2 separate regions of the Homo sapiens genome follow, and region 1 is linked to region 2. The links are contacts of gene promoters, found by promoter capture Hi-C in human tissues and cell types (Jung and others, 2019). All regions are on one chromosome and are shown on one strand. Each heading gives the region's core, a stretch centred on a gene start or on the middle of the fragment in contact. The rest is flanking DNA. Distances are from core to core; before and after follow the strand shown. Region 1 overlaps PTAFR (platelet activating factor receptor). Region 2 holds the start of XKR8 (XK related 8).

Region 1 (6,915 bases), core at 3,135-5,634, 200 kb after region 2:
AAGGAGGAAACAAAGAGAACTGCCAGGTGTCTGGGCCAGATGATTGAGGACATGGTGGTGTCTGTCTTCATGGAGAAGACACTGAGGAGGAACAGCATGAGGGCAGGGAGGATGAATTCATATGAGGACATATCCCATCTGGGATGCCTGTGAAACACCCAAAAGGACCAGGGTTAAACCCTGAAGAGCCCAACATCAAGGAAGAAGTCAGAGGAGGACAGACCTATGGAGGCAGAGACAGGACAGTCAGAGACAAGGAGGGTTCCATGCTTGAGGCCTAAGGGAAGAAAGTTTCAAGAGCTTGGGAAGACATGGGCAACAGTGTGAAAAGCCACAGGGAGATGAATGACAATGCAGACAGAAAAGCAAACACTGGATGTGGAAACATGGAAATCAATCTCATGTGATCAGATCATGTGATCACAGGGAGAGCAGTTGCCCAGGCATGGGTTGAGGGGTGAGTGATAGGAGAGAAAGGGGAATGTCAAATCCTCACTCAAGAAGTTCGATTGAGCCAGGCACAGTGGCTCACTCCTGTAATCCCAGCACTTTGGGAGGCCGAGGCAGGACGATCACTCGAGGTCAGGAGTTCCAGACCAGCCTGGCCAATATGGTGAAATCCCATCTCTAATAAAAATACAAAAATTAGCCAGACGCCTATAATCTCAACTACTGGGGAGGCTGAGGCAGGAGAATCGCTTGAACCCAGGAGGTAGAGGTTGCAGTGAGCCGAGATAGCACCACTGCACTCCAGCCTGAGCAACGAGAACGAAACTCCGTCTCAAAAAAAAAAAAAGAAGTTTGATTGAGCAACAAAATGCTGTGTGTGGACCTTGTTTGGATCCTGATTCAAATAAACCAACTGTAAAAAATATTTTCCAGACAATTGGGCTGGCTGTGGTGCTCATGCCTGGTCTCAGCACTTTGGGGAGGCCAAGGCGGAACAATTGCTTGAGCTCAGGAGTTTGAGATCAGCCTGGGCAATATAGCAAGACCTCATCACTCCTAAAAATTTTTAAAAGTTAGCTGGGTGTGGTGGTGCACACCTCTAGTCCCAGTTACTCAGGAAGCTGAGGCAGGAGGATTGCTTGAGCCCAGGAGTTCAAGGCTGCAGTGAGCTGTGATTATGCCACTGCACTCCAGCCTGGGCAACAGAGCCTCAAGACCCTGTCACACACACACAAAAAAGAATTAAAAAAAAAAAAAAGACATTTGGGAAAACTCAAACACAGATGGTATTAAAAAAATGTTTATTTATTTAGGTAGGATAATGATATGGTGGTTGTATTGTTAAATTCCTTAGCTATTAGATGTGCACTCCAACCTGGGCAACACAGCAAGGCTTCATCTCAAAAAAAAAAAAAAAATTCCAGGAAGACCAGGTGTGGTGGCTCATGCCTGTAATACCAGCACTTTGGGGAAACTGAGGAAGGAGGATGGGTCAGGAATTCAAGACCAGCCTGGGCAACATAGCAAGACCTCATCTCTACACCCATCCCCACCTTGCCTCCCCCCGCCACCCCCCACACACACACGAGAATAAAATATTCCAGGAAAATTGTGCCTGCATGCTAATCTCTATTTCAAAGTTGGCTTCCCAGGAACCCAACCTAGGAGATTGTATACTTGGGTCTATCTGACTTCAGAGCCTCCCCAGTCCACACAGGCCCCACAGGAGCCCCAGCAAGAGTAGGCCTCCTCCTTCCAGATACAGGACCAGAATCAGTAAGGGGAGTGCTGGTGGAGTCCCTGCTTGACTCAAACCCGTTGGTGCCACCAGTACCCGTCATCCTGGCTCTTCCTACTTCTGCTGCCTTCTGTTCAATCCCAGGCTCCTGGCCCCCATGTGACTCCCACTCCCTTGGCCCCAACCCAAACTTGGTGCCTATCACTGTATCTTTGCATGAGTAGAACCCTTGAAATCACCCAAAATGTAACCAGCTGATTCTCCTCTGGGCCTGAGAGCTTGCACTTTCATTACTTTATTCATGCTGTTTCCTCTGCCAAGAAATCCTCCCTTCCTTGTCATTGTCTGGATGTTTACTAGAACATTCTTTAAGATTGCTCAGACCTCATTTCCTCCAAGTAGCTCTTTCTAAGACTCCTGGCCTCCTGCACACCCAGCTCCACCCGCGGTCTGGTTAAGTGCCCATTCTTTGGACTTCCGTAGCTCATAGCTCTTTATCCCACTGAAATTGCCTCTATGTGACCTCTCTGCCAACCAGAGGCAGAGACAATGTCCATGCATTCACCTCACAGTTATTGACATCCTTCTGGGTGTTGGGCACTATGTTGGGGAGACTGCAGAAACAAAACAAAGTTCCTGCTCTCGAGGAGCTTACATTCTAGTTGGGGGAAACAGTCAAAAATAAGTGGAGCAACAAATAAGATAATTTCAAATTGTGATGAATTTAATGAAGGAAATAAAAATAGTAACATGAAGATAGGGTAGATGGCTTTTTTTTTATTTTTATTTTTTAATAAATAGAGACAAGGTCTCACTATGTTGCCCAGGTTGGTCTTGAACTCCTGAGCTCAAGTGATCTGCCTGATTTAGTCTCCCAAAGTGCTAGGATTACAGGCATGAGCCACTGCACCCAGCTGGTGGCTGTTTTAAGTAGAATGACCAGGAAAGGCTTCTTGGAGGAGGTGACATACAAACAAAACCACAGACAGCTTTACCATGAAGTCAATGAAGCTTAAGCTTTAAGGCCCTCTCCTAGGCCCTGTATCTAATTGTATATTTGTAATTTGGTATCTTCAAAGGGGGGCCCTTCAAATTGTATAAGCTTTAGTAACCTATAAAATCTGTGTCTACCCCTGGCTGAACTCTAAAAAAGAAAAAAGGAACAAGTAAGAGGACGATCTGGATTATTCCAGCCAGAGAGTATCATGTGCAAAGGGCCTGTAATGGGAATAATTTCATCATGTTCTGAAGTAGGAACAAGAAACTGAAAGGTTGGTGTGGCCCTAGGGGAGTGAGAAATGGGAAGAGTGGGATGTGATCAGAGGACACCTGGCTGCAGATCACTCCTGAGCCATGGTAAGGAGTTGGGATTTTATTCTGTGAGCCTCGGAGAGCTGCTTCAGTGTCGCTAAGCAGGCAAGTAACATGATCGGACTCGCTCTAGCTGTCAGGTAGAGAATAGATGGTAGGGAGCAAGCGTGGAAACAGCAAGAGCATTTTGGAGGTCAGAGATGGTGGTGGCATGGACCAGAAAGTGGCATTTTCAATTCCTCTCCCCGTCCCCTGTACTCAGGGAGCTTGGCTGGGGCAAAAGTTTGGTAAACATTTGTCAGGTGAACAAACACCCAGCAACCGACAGGATTGCCTACTCCCCAGACAGAGCAGCTGCCACACAAGGCAGAGTGAGCCCTCTACAAACTCAGGACTCAAACTGTGGTCCTTGGACGAGCAGCATTGGCACCACCTGCAAGCTTGTTAGAAATGCAGAATCTTGGGTCCCACCCCAGATCTCCTGTATCAGAATCTGTATGTTGGCCGGGCATGGTGGCTCACGCCTGTCATCCCAGCAGTTTGGGAGGCTGAGGCAGGTGGATCACTTGAGGTCAGGAGTTCGAGACCAGCCTGACCAACATAATGAAACCCCCTCTCTAATAAAACTACAAAAATTAGCCAGGCATGGTGGTGGGTGCCTGTAATCCCAGCTACTCTGGAGGCTGAGGCAGGAGAATAATTGCTTGAACCCAGGAGACAGAGGTTGCAGTGAGCCAAGATCACACCACTGCACTCCAGCCTGGGCGACAGAGCGAGACTTTGTCTCCAAAAAAAAAAAAAAAAAAAAAAAGACTCCATATGTTAATAAGATTCCCAGGCGATTCGTGCACGCACCGAAATCTGAGACATGTTGTACCCCAACAACTGCCAGCCACACACTTGCCTGGGCTAACATCTTCCGTGGCTCCCCTGGCCCAGGATCAAGTCTAAGCTCCTTTCCCATCTTATTTTCCACCATTCCCCGCTACTCATTTTCTACTCTTGCTGCACTGAATTTCTCGCTGCTTCCCTAAAAACTCCATTTTTCCTCAAATCTCTTTGCCTTTCCAGCAGCCTGCTTTTGCCTATTGCTTTACCTAGAAAAATCTTACTCATCTTAAGACCTAATCTGAAAAAGCACTTCCTCTGGGATGCCTTCCCTGATCGCCACAGGCAAAATGAGTTGCCTTCTTCTCTGGGTCCCTATGCACTGGGCGCATTCCTCAGTCTAGCACCTGATACAGTATGTTTTAAGTATTAATTTCTGTGGCTGTTTCCTTGTCAGACTGGGCACTTCCTGAGGGCAGGGACTAGATCTTTTTCATCTCTTCAATCCCAGTGTCGGGCACCGAGGAATGAATGGATGAGTGGCCATGCCCTGATGATGGCTCCGAAATCCCCGGCACAAAGGAAGTGTGCACAGTCTCCCCAGGGGAGCTGTACTGGGGTGGAGTGGGTTAGGGAGAACAAGGTCTCTGGAGTCAGAAAGGTCTACAGGTTCATACCTGGCTTACCATTTACTTGCTGTATGACCTGGGGCAAGTGACCTCGCCTCTCTAACCTTCAATGTCTTCATTTGCAAAATCTTACAATCCTAACAATGGTTTCAAAGATAAGTATGCAAAGTGGCTGGAACAGGACCTGAGCCACAAATGACCAAGCCTCCCTCTCCCCACTGGCCCAGCTGCTTGGAGCCAGGGGAGGGGACTGTGGGCCAACATTGACCTAGGGGCTTTGACCTACACACTGGCTTTCCTGCCAGCTCCAGATAGAGCCTCCAGCTAATGGCAACAAAGCTTTCAACAGCTCAGGAAGAGGATGAACATTTGGAAAGAAAAGAAGAGGCTCAGACCACTCAGTTTAACACATGGGCACAGTTCCCTGATGGATCGAGGCTGGGCAGCTGGCCCAGGCACAGCCTTCAGCTGGGGGTGGGGTAGAGAGGCCATAAATATTCATGAGACAGAAGAATTCTGCTGTCTGGATCTGGTACCCTTTTCCCTGTGCAGCATTCGGCCCTCATCCCTGCTGGAAACATTCCCAGTCCCTAGGGAACCTGGAGAAGGGGTTCTCATCCATAGCTGGACAGCCAGAGAGGAGGGACCATCGGGAGATGGACAGAAGGAGGTATGTGCTGGTTGATTTCCCAGGCCAGATTGTGGGTTGGGAAGTTGGGTTCACCAGTCCTGCTAGCTCTTAACATTTGTGGGGCCAGTTGAGGTCAAAAGTACAAAATTCTAAATATTTATAAGCTATAAATAAGATACATCCAAGTTCATCCACAGCTCCTGCACCAGCAGTTCCTTGCAGCCCCGCAGGCCTGAGGGTGCATTCACCAACAGGGCAAGGACTAGAAGTGGTGAAGGCGGGGGAACACCACATTCCAAGTGGGCACACTCTCTTGGATCCAAGTACTCCTTGCTCTGTGGGGATCATGAGGCTGGAGCCCCCCTAATTTCAAGACACTGGGCACCATTTACTGGTATACAGTACATCTTGCCTATGATCATATTTCCTCCTCAGATCATCTTCGTGAGGCTGGTTTTACAAGATACCTAATTTTCTAGGGGTAAAAAGTGAGACTAGAGAAGAAAATAGATTTGTCCATAGTCACACAGCGGGGAAGTGGCAGACTTGGGATTTTGAACTCCAAGGTTCATTCTGACTCTCCTAGAACAAGCTGTGTCCCCTGCTAGAAGCAAACTGCTCCTTGGCCAGCTTGTCCACTCACAGACCTGTCTTACAGCCTGAGAATGGGAGCTCCAGATGCTGTGAGGCCCCAGGAAGAGATGCCTTTGACCTGGGGCCCTGCTTTTACCTTTGTTCCTCAAAGCTGGGAAGGGAATGCGACAAAGGGATGGCATGACCTGCTCTGTATCCATCTGACTCCCGCCTGGTAGGGCGAGAGCTGGGTCAGATCCTGGTTCAACCACTAAGCTCATCCTGTGATTCTGAGTCTCTGTTTCCTCATTTGTAAATGAAGATTTTTATATGGACTAAGAGAAAAGGATATTAAGAAAACAATCTTATTTACAACAGTATTCAAAAAAAATAACATACTTAGAAATAAACTTAACCAGCCAGGCACGATGGCTCATGCCTATAATAATCCCAGCACTCCGGGAGGCTGAGGCAGGCAGATCACTTGAGTTCAGGAGTTTGAGACCAGCCTGGCTAACATGGTGAAACCCCATCTCTACTAAAAATACAAAAATTAGCTGGGCGTGGTGGCGCATGCCTGTAGTCCCAGCTACTCAGGAGGCTGAGCCAGGAGAATCACTTGAACCGGGAGGCGGAGGCTGCAGTGAGCCAAGATCATGCCACTGCACTCCAGCCTGGGCGACAGAGCAAGACTCTGTCTCAAAAAAAAAAAAAAAAAAAAAAGGAAAAAAAAAAAAGAAACAAACTTAACCAAGGAGGCAAAAGACTTGTACATTGAAAACTACAAAACATTGCTGAAGGTCAGGCGCGGTGCCTCACGCCTGTAATCCCAGCACTTTGAGAGGCCGAGACAGGCGGATCACGAGGTCAGGAGATCGAGACCATCCTGGCTAACACAGTGAAACCCCGTCTCTACTAAAAATACAAAAAATTAGCCAGGCGTGGTGGCAGGCGCCTGTAGTCCCAGCTACTCGGGAGGCTGAGGCAGGAGAATGGCATGAACCCAGGAGGCGGAGCTTACAGTGAGCCGAGATCGTGCCACTGCACTCCAGCCTGGGTGACAGAGCGAGACTCTGTCTAGGAAAAAAAAAAATTGCTGAAAGAAATTGAAGATGACACAAATAAATGGAAAGACATCCCAAGTTCATGGATTGGAAGACTTAATATTATTAAAATGTCCATACCACCCAAAGTGATCTACAGGTTCAATGCCATTCTACCAAAATCCCAGTGTAATTTTTACAGAAATTTTTTAA
Region 2 (7,332 bases), core at 2,692-5,191:
AATCCAGCCATCCGGGTGTTCGAATATGACCGAGCCACACTGAGCCTGAAGGTCAGGAGTCCTGCGGAGGCCAGAGGAGGAGGGTGGGAGGGGCTTAAATGCATCACCACCTTCCCTCACTCTCAGCTTATCCACCTTCCCCTGACCACTGAGCCTCAGGAAGGTTGAGCTCCTTCCACCCTTCTCCAGCTCAGGATCAGAACCCTGGAGGCACCTGCCACCGAGTCAGGGCAGTGCCTCACCAAGTCACCTTTTCCCCTGGATGACTGTCACAGCTTCATACCTGGTCTCCCTGCCTCTGGCCCTGCCCTGCTATGGCCCATCCGCTACACAAGAGAGAAGAAACTAATCTCCTATAGCACCACTTTCATCTTGTCTCCGTCCTGCTCAAAAACCTTCAGTGGCTCCCCAGTGCCTTCAAGATAAAGTTGTGTCTCCTTGACCTAGTACTCAAGGCTTCCCACAGTCTGACTTCAAGCCCATTGTCCACATTTTCCGTACACAGACGAGGCTCCAGCCCCTAATTCTTTGGGCAGTCCCTCACCTCGTAGGATGAGCTTGTGGTTGTTGAGATGAAAAATATTATTCCTTTATTTATCCAACAAAATGCATTAAGTGTGTGCCATTGGCCAGGCCCTGTTCTAATCTCAGAAGATATGTAAATTTAAAAACAAAGTCACCCCTCTCCTGGACCTGACATCTTACAGGAGAGGGACAATAAATATGTAGAATTAATTATAGTACTGAGAGAAGGGCTAAGGAGAAAATCAAAACAGTGAGGCGACAGGGTGACAGCTATGGGAGGTGTGTACTGTGTTAGATAGGTGGGAAGGGGAAGTGTCCACATAAGGTGCCATTTGAGTTCTGAGTGTATTGAGGGAGGGAGCCCAGTGGGTATCTTGGGGAGGTGGAGGGAACAGCAAGTCAAAGGCCCCGGGGTGGGAATGTGCGTGGTAGGTTAGGGGAAGAGCACGGAGGCCATGTGGCCACAGTAAGAGGCACAAGGGGAGAGTGGGAGGGGAGGTCCGATCTTGCAGGCCTCCATGAGGACTCTGGATTTGGAGGGTTTTGCGCAGAAGAATGAAATCCTGTGACTTATAATTTTATGGAATCATCATGTCTGCTGTGCAGGGAACAGGCTGTAGGGGCAGGTGGGGGAGCAGTGAGGCCGTTTGGAGGGAAGGACAAATCCCAGATGACAGGATAGTAGCTTGCCCAGGGTGGAGGCAGTGAGATGGTGAAAAGTGCCAGGTCCCAGATGAATTCTGGATGCAGGATTTGCTAGAGTGGATATGAGCTGTGAGAAAAAGGGACGAATCCAGGAGGCTTCCAAGGCTCTTGGCCTGTGCAACGGTAGGCTGTGGCTGCCGATTACTGAGATAAGTGGCAGGGTGATCAGGCTTCGGAGGGTCAGTCAGAGGTCTTGTTTTGGACCTGTTACCTTTGGGAGGGCTAAATGGCATCAAGTGAAAGTGGACAGGGAAGGGGCAAGTTGGAGCTTGAAGAGGTGAGGATAGAGATGTGATCTGGGAGTGGAGAGAGGACATTTAAAGCCAACGACTGCATGAGCTAACCCAGGTCCTTGATTCTAGTAAAGGTAGATTAAGAAGAGGTCTGAGGGGTTTAAAGAGTGGCCTGTTGTCCACATGGGCACTCCAAGGGTCTGAGCAAGGGGAATGGCAGGCTGCACCATCACCCCCTAACAGGCCCTCCATTCTCCTCAGGGAGGGAGTCAGCCCTGAGCTTGAATCCTGGCTCCACCACTCATAAGCTTTTTGATCTTTTGACCTCTGTGCCTCACTTGCTTCATCTGTAAAATGGGAGTAACAGAACCTCGCAGGGTTTGAGGAGGACTACATGAAATAATGGAATGTTCCTGGCACAGAGTGGCCATGCATACGGGCAGCTCCTCTTACCCCGTCTGCAGTGGCCTGAAGCAGGTTCATAAATGTACCTGGAACCCGCTGGACTGATGAACCCTGCAGAGTCTAGCCGTGAACATGCACCTGGGTCCTAGGAGTCTACAGTTCATAATCTCTCTCATGCTTAGTGTTGCTCTTTTTATGTTGCTTTTATCTATTCATTATGTAAATATTTACTGAGCGTCTTCTATGTGTACCCTAGCATGGTGGGACCTGGGGTAAACCTGGGGTCCAATCCTGCTACCACTGAATACCTGTATGAATACCTGTATGACCCTGGCCAAGTGAATTAACCTCTTTAGGCCTCAGTTTCCTCATTTGTGAAACCTAGGTAATAAGCGCAGTTACCTCATTCGATTCAGAGGATGTCTGCCAAGCACAATGGGTGCACAGCTAAGTGCTCAATAACTACTAGTGGTCATGGTCACTGCTCTAAAGAACTTGGGGGCAAATGCAAGGTGCAGGATGGGGATGGAAGCAGACAACTGCTCACAGCCGGTCTACCCCAAACCCTTTTTCCAGGACATGGTGACCTACTTCATGAACCTGAGCCAGGCGAATGCTCAGGGGACGCCGCGCTGGGAGCTCGAGTACCAGCTGACCGAGGCCTATGGGGTGCCGGACGCCAGCGCCCACTCCATGCACACAGTGCTGGACCGCATCGCTGGCGACCAGAGCACACTGCAGCGCTACTACGTCTATAACTCAGTCAGCTACTCTGCTGGGGTCTGCGACGAGGCCTGCAGCATGCAGCACGTGTGTGCCATGCGCCAGGTGGACATTGACGCTTACACCACCTGTCTGTATGCCTCTGGCACCACGCCCGTGCCCCAGCTCCCGCTGCTGCTGATGGCCCTGCTGGGCCTGTGCACGCTCGTGCTGTGACCTGCCAGGCTCACCTTCTTCCTGGTAACGGGTAACGGGGGCAGCGCCCAGGATCACCCAGAGCTGGGCCTTCCACCATTTCCTCCGCGCCTGAGGAGTGAACTGAAATAGGACAACCGAATCAGGAAGCGAAGCCCCAGGAGCTGCAGCCATCCGTGATCGCGCCACTGCACTCCAGCCTGGGTGACAAAGCCAGACTCTCTCCAAAAACAAACCAGAAACAGAAAAGAAATGACGACCCAAGACCCCCCTACAAGCATACTTCTTTTGCGTATTATGTTTAACTCACAAAACAAAGCTCATCATGCGTTTGATTCTGTGTTGTGTTCCTTTTCTTTTCTTTTGAGACGGAGTCTCGCTCTGTCGCCCAGGCCGGAGTGCAGTGGCGCTATCTCGGCTCTCTGCAACCTCTGCCTCCCGGGTTCAAGCGATTCTCCTGCCTCAGCCTCCTAGCTGGGACTACAGGCGCGCGCCAACACGCCCGACTAATTTGTATTTTTAGTAGAGACGGGGTTTCGCCATGTTTGCCAGGCTGGTCTCGAACTCCTGACCTCAGGTGATCCGCCCGCCTGGGCCTCCCAAAGTGTTGGGATTACAGGCGTGAGTCACCGCGCCCGGCCTCTATTCCCTTCCGTATGGAAATGAGGTTAACTCATTTGCAGGAACCTAACGCCCGCCCTCCCCCGACTCGGATCGCTGGCGTGAACCCAGCGGCCCCGTGCTCTCCGGGTATCCCTGGATCGAGGCGCACGCGTTGTTGCAAAGTCTCGCACTTAGGGATTAGAATGTGCCTTTGCGTTTCGTTTTGTTTTGCAACAATACAGGTGTGAGGGATCGCAGCCCTGGTCCAGGCTCTAGTCTCCCCGCCCTCTCGCTTTCTTGGGCCTCCGGGCGCCTCAAAGGTAAAACTAGGCCATTTGAAGCCTGCGAAGCGAAGGGCAGTCGGTCTTCAGGCCTAGCGGGCTTGGCTGGGCTGGGTCGGTGGACCCCTGGGCTGGCGGCGGGAGCAGAGCATCGAGCGGCTTTTAGCTGGGGTTCGGGCGGAGGACCTGGGACAACCGCGGGCCTCGCTCCTCCCCGGACGGGGCGGGACGGGGAAGTCCCGCCCACCAGGCCCAGGCCCCGGGCCGCCCCGAGGGCTGCGCCCACCTCCTTCCTGCCTCGGCAACCCCGGGCCCTGAGGGCAGGCCCCAACCGCGGAGGAGCAGGAGAGGGCGGAGGCCGGCGGGCCATGCCCTGGTCGTCCCGCGGCGCCCTCCTTCGGGACCTGGTCCTGGGCGTGCTGGGCACCGCCGCCTTCCTGCTCGACCTGGGCACCGACCTGTGGGCCGCCGTCCAGTATGCGCTCGGCGGCCGCTACCTGTGGGCGGCGCTGGTGCTGGCGCTGCTGGGCCTGGCCTCCGTGGCGCTGCAGCTCTTCAGCTGGCTCTGGCTGCGCGCTGACCCTGCCGGCCTGCACGGGTCGCAGCCCCCGCGCCGCTGCCTGGCGCTGCTGCATCTCCTGCAGCTGGGTTACCTGTACAGGTGAGTGCTTCGCCCCGGGAGGGGAGGAGTGTCGGAGCCCAGCACCTCCGTCAGCTGGGTCACCTGTACAGGTGACACGCCATATGCCGGGAAGGGGACTGGGAGAGGGAACCAAGTCCTGTGGGCGCCTGGCCTACAGGTGAGCGTGCAGCCCTTTACGGAAAGGGAATCCCGGTAGACTGCCTTCATTCTAGCCCTAGCTTTCCTGGCACAGGCGAAGAAACTGAGGCCCAGGGAAGAAAGGGAGGCGCATGGGCTTTGAAGTCGGACCTCTCAGGGATCCACTTCTGGCTTTGCCCCCTCTCGCCTCACTTCTGCATTTCTCTGAGCCTCAGTTTCCTCCTGCGTAGAAAGGAGGTAGTCACCCTGAGACAGGTGTGACGGGCAGGCCTGTTGTGAAGAGTGAGCGAAAGAATGAGAAAGTGCCTCGCACAGTGCCTGGCCTGTAATGGCAGGGGCTGCGGACTCAGTTCAGCATCCCATGTTTCAGCATGGGCAGGGCCTTGGGAAGTCACTGACCTCTCAGTGGGGCTGTTTGGTTGCTGTTCCCATTGGGATGGGGATAGCGCCTGCCCGTTTGGTGAAGATGCAGTGAAATGACATCTGTCCACTGCCCTGGCTCAGAGTGAGCACTCAGCAACCTCAGCTGGCTTCTTGACCTGGGCCTCCCTGGGAGTTTCAGCAGCCCTGACCCCACCACAGCGCTTGCCCCTCACAAAGGCCGCCTCTCACCCTGTCTGCCTGGTTGTATTCTTCCCCCTGAAACTTGGCTTCCCACCCCAGACCCAGCAAGAGGGCAGAGATGGCCTCTGACTCATCCATGCCCATGGAGCCAGCCAGGGCTGGGCATAGGCTGGGTCCTGGAAAATGTGTGTGGATTCTGCTCCTTTTTGGACCTGGTGGAGCCTCGTAGAGATGGGAAAACAAACCCAAGGCTCAGAGGCATGCGACAAAGTCAGGGCAGAGGGTGGTGTGGGTTGGGATGGGGTGGCCAGGGCCAGGATCTGCTCTTGAATCCGTTTTTACAAACTCTTGAGATCTGGCCTTGACAAAGCCACACGGAGTCTCCAGGAGTGGAAGAGAGGAGCTTTGAATGTGGCAGTTTTGCCTGAGGGATTATAGAGACATCAGAAAACCCCGGGTGGGCATGAAGGGGTGCAGTTGTTAAGTCCTGGGCAGGCCTCCATGAGCCGTGAATCTGTAACTACCTTATGCATCTTTGTGGCCAATATTTCTGCTGAGCTTGAGTCAGACAGACTGTACTAGCTTTGGCTTTGGAAATGGGTCTCTGTTCCTGCCTGTGAATTGGCCGAGGCAGGGGTCCCTGCTAGGTCACTGGGGACCATAGGCAAAGGCTCCTGCTGAGGGAGAACCCCAGCCTGTCCTGCCTGCCTGCTCCTCAGTGTGTTCTTGTGTCCTTCCAGGGGAAGTGACAGTACATGTCTGGTGAATGAGCTTGTGATGAGTGAACGGGGTTCTCTCCCAATAGGCAACTGAGAGCAAAGTTCTGGGTGGAGGGTCCTTGGTGCATCCTCCACTTACTCTTCATGCCAGTGGGTACCCCAGACCTGTCTGTCCAAACTCTGGACTCTCTTAACTCCGCCCCAATCTCCATCCTTAACCACTCAGGGCCAGCCTCTTAAATGGGATCCCTCCTTCCAATCTAACCCTCCTCCAGCCCCTCCCCTGTGTGGCCGGGGCAAGGCAGAGTCTGATTCCATCTGGCCTGTGCCCAGAAGTGCCCAAGAGGCAAATGTCCTCTTGCCCACAGGACCCCAGGAGATCTTGGGCACACTAAAGTTTGAGAACTACTGCCTCAGGCAACTTTATAGCATGCCTTTCCAATTCAGGTTTGGATCCAAATCCTCATTCCAGTACTTATTAGCTGCTTATAATTTTTTGTTTGTTTTTTAAAAAGAGGTAGGGTCTGGTCAGGCTTGGTGGCTCATGCCTGTAATCCTAGCAGTCTGGGAGGCTGACGTGGGTGGATCACTTGAGGTCAGGAGTTTGAGACCAGCCTGCTGAACATGGCAAAAGCTCATCTCTACAAAAATTAGCCAGGTGTGGTGGCGCATGCCTGTAATCCCAGCATCCCAGCTACTCTGGAGGCCGAGGCAGGAGAATCGCTTGAACCTGGGAGGTGGAGGTTGCAGTGAGCCGAGTTTGTGCCACTGCACTCTAGCCTGGGCGACAAGCGACAGATGTAGACTCTGTCTCCAAAAAAAAAGAAAAAAAAAAAGAGAGAGAGAGGCAGGGTCTCTGTTGCCTGGGCTGGAGTGCAGTGGCACAATCAATCATGGCTCACAGTGGCCTTGAACTCCTGGGCTCAAGCTGTCCTCCTGCGTCAGCCTCCTGAGTAGCTTGGACTACAGGCTTGTACCACCACGTCCAACTAATTAAAAAAAATTCTTTGTAGAGATGGGGCTTGCTGTGTTGCCCAGGGTGGTCTCAAACTCCTGGCCTCCAGTGATCCTCTTGCCTTGGCCTGTCAAAATGTTGGGATTACAGGCGCGAGCCACTGCACCCAGACCTTATTAGCTTCTTGATCCTGTTTCCCCATCTGTAAAATGGGCTTTTGTGAGAAGTAAACAGGACAAGGTTTGTGATGAGCTTGGGACAGTGCTTAGCCAGCGGGAGTAGAAGGTGTATTGATCCCCATTTTTGCTTTTTTGTTTTTTTTGAGACGGAGTCTTGTTCTGTCGCCAGGCTGGAGTGCAGTGGCACGATCTCGGCTCACTGTAACCTCCGCCTTGCAGATTCAAGAGATTCTCCTGCCTCAGCCTCCTGAGTAGCTGGGACTACAGGCGCGCACCACCACACCCAGCTAATTTTTTGTATTAGTAGAGACGAGGCTTCACCATGTTAGCCAGGATGGTCTCAATCTCCTGAACTCGTGATCAGCCCGCCTCAGACTCCCAAAGTGCTGGGATTACAGGCATGAGCCACCACACCCGGCCTCGATCCTCATTTTACAGATGAAACAAGTTCAGTGAGGTTAGGA

The links. Contacts are between HindIII fragments. The study calls those that stand out against the background at their distance.
Region 1: a fragment that was not itself captured here is called in contact with the fragment with the promoter of XKR8 in region 2 in 1 of the 25 tissues and cell types used here (mesenchymal stem cells).

What each region holds. Positions count from the first base shown.
Region 1 is chr1:28,159,044-28,165,958 of GRCh38, forward strand. The region is part of intron 1 of PTAFR (platelet activating factor receptor); the gene reads right to left. Among named protein-coding and RNA genes, the nearest start is that of PTAFR, 14 kb to the right of the region's middle. The HindIII fragment of the contact is 3,366 bases long and covers 2,702-6,067 here.
Region 2 is chr1:27,956,032-27,963,363 of GRCh38, forward strand. XKR8 (XK related 8) reads left to right here and starts at 3,942. Exons shown (of 3, transcript NM_018053.4): 1 at 3,942-4,331. The coding sequence starts at 4,039. SMPDL3B (sphingomyelin phosphodiesterase acid like 3B) reads left to right here. Exons shown (of 8, transcript NM_014474.4): 7 at 1-51; 8 at 2,445-3,121. The coding sequence ends at 2,807. RefSeq lists a silencer at 3,813-4,202 and an enhancer at 3,883-4,446. The HindIII fragment of the contact is 22,893 bases long and covers 573-7,332 here.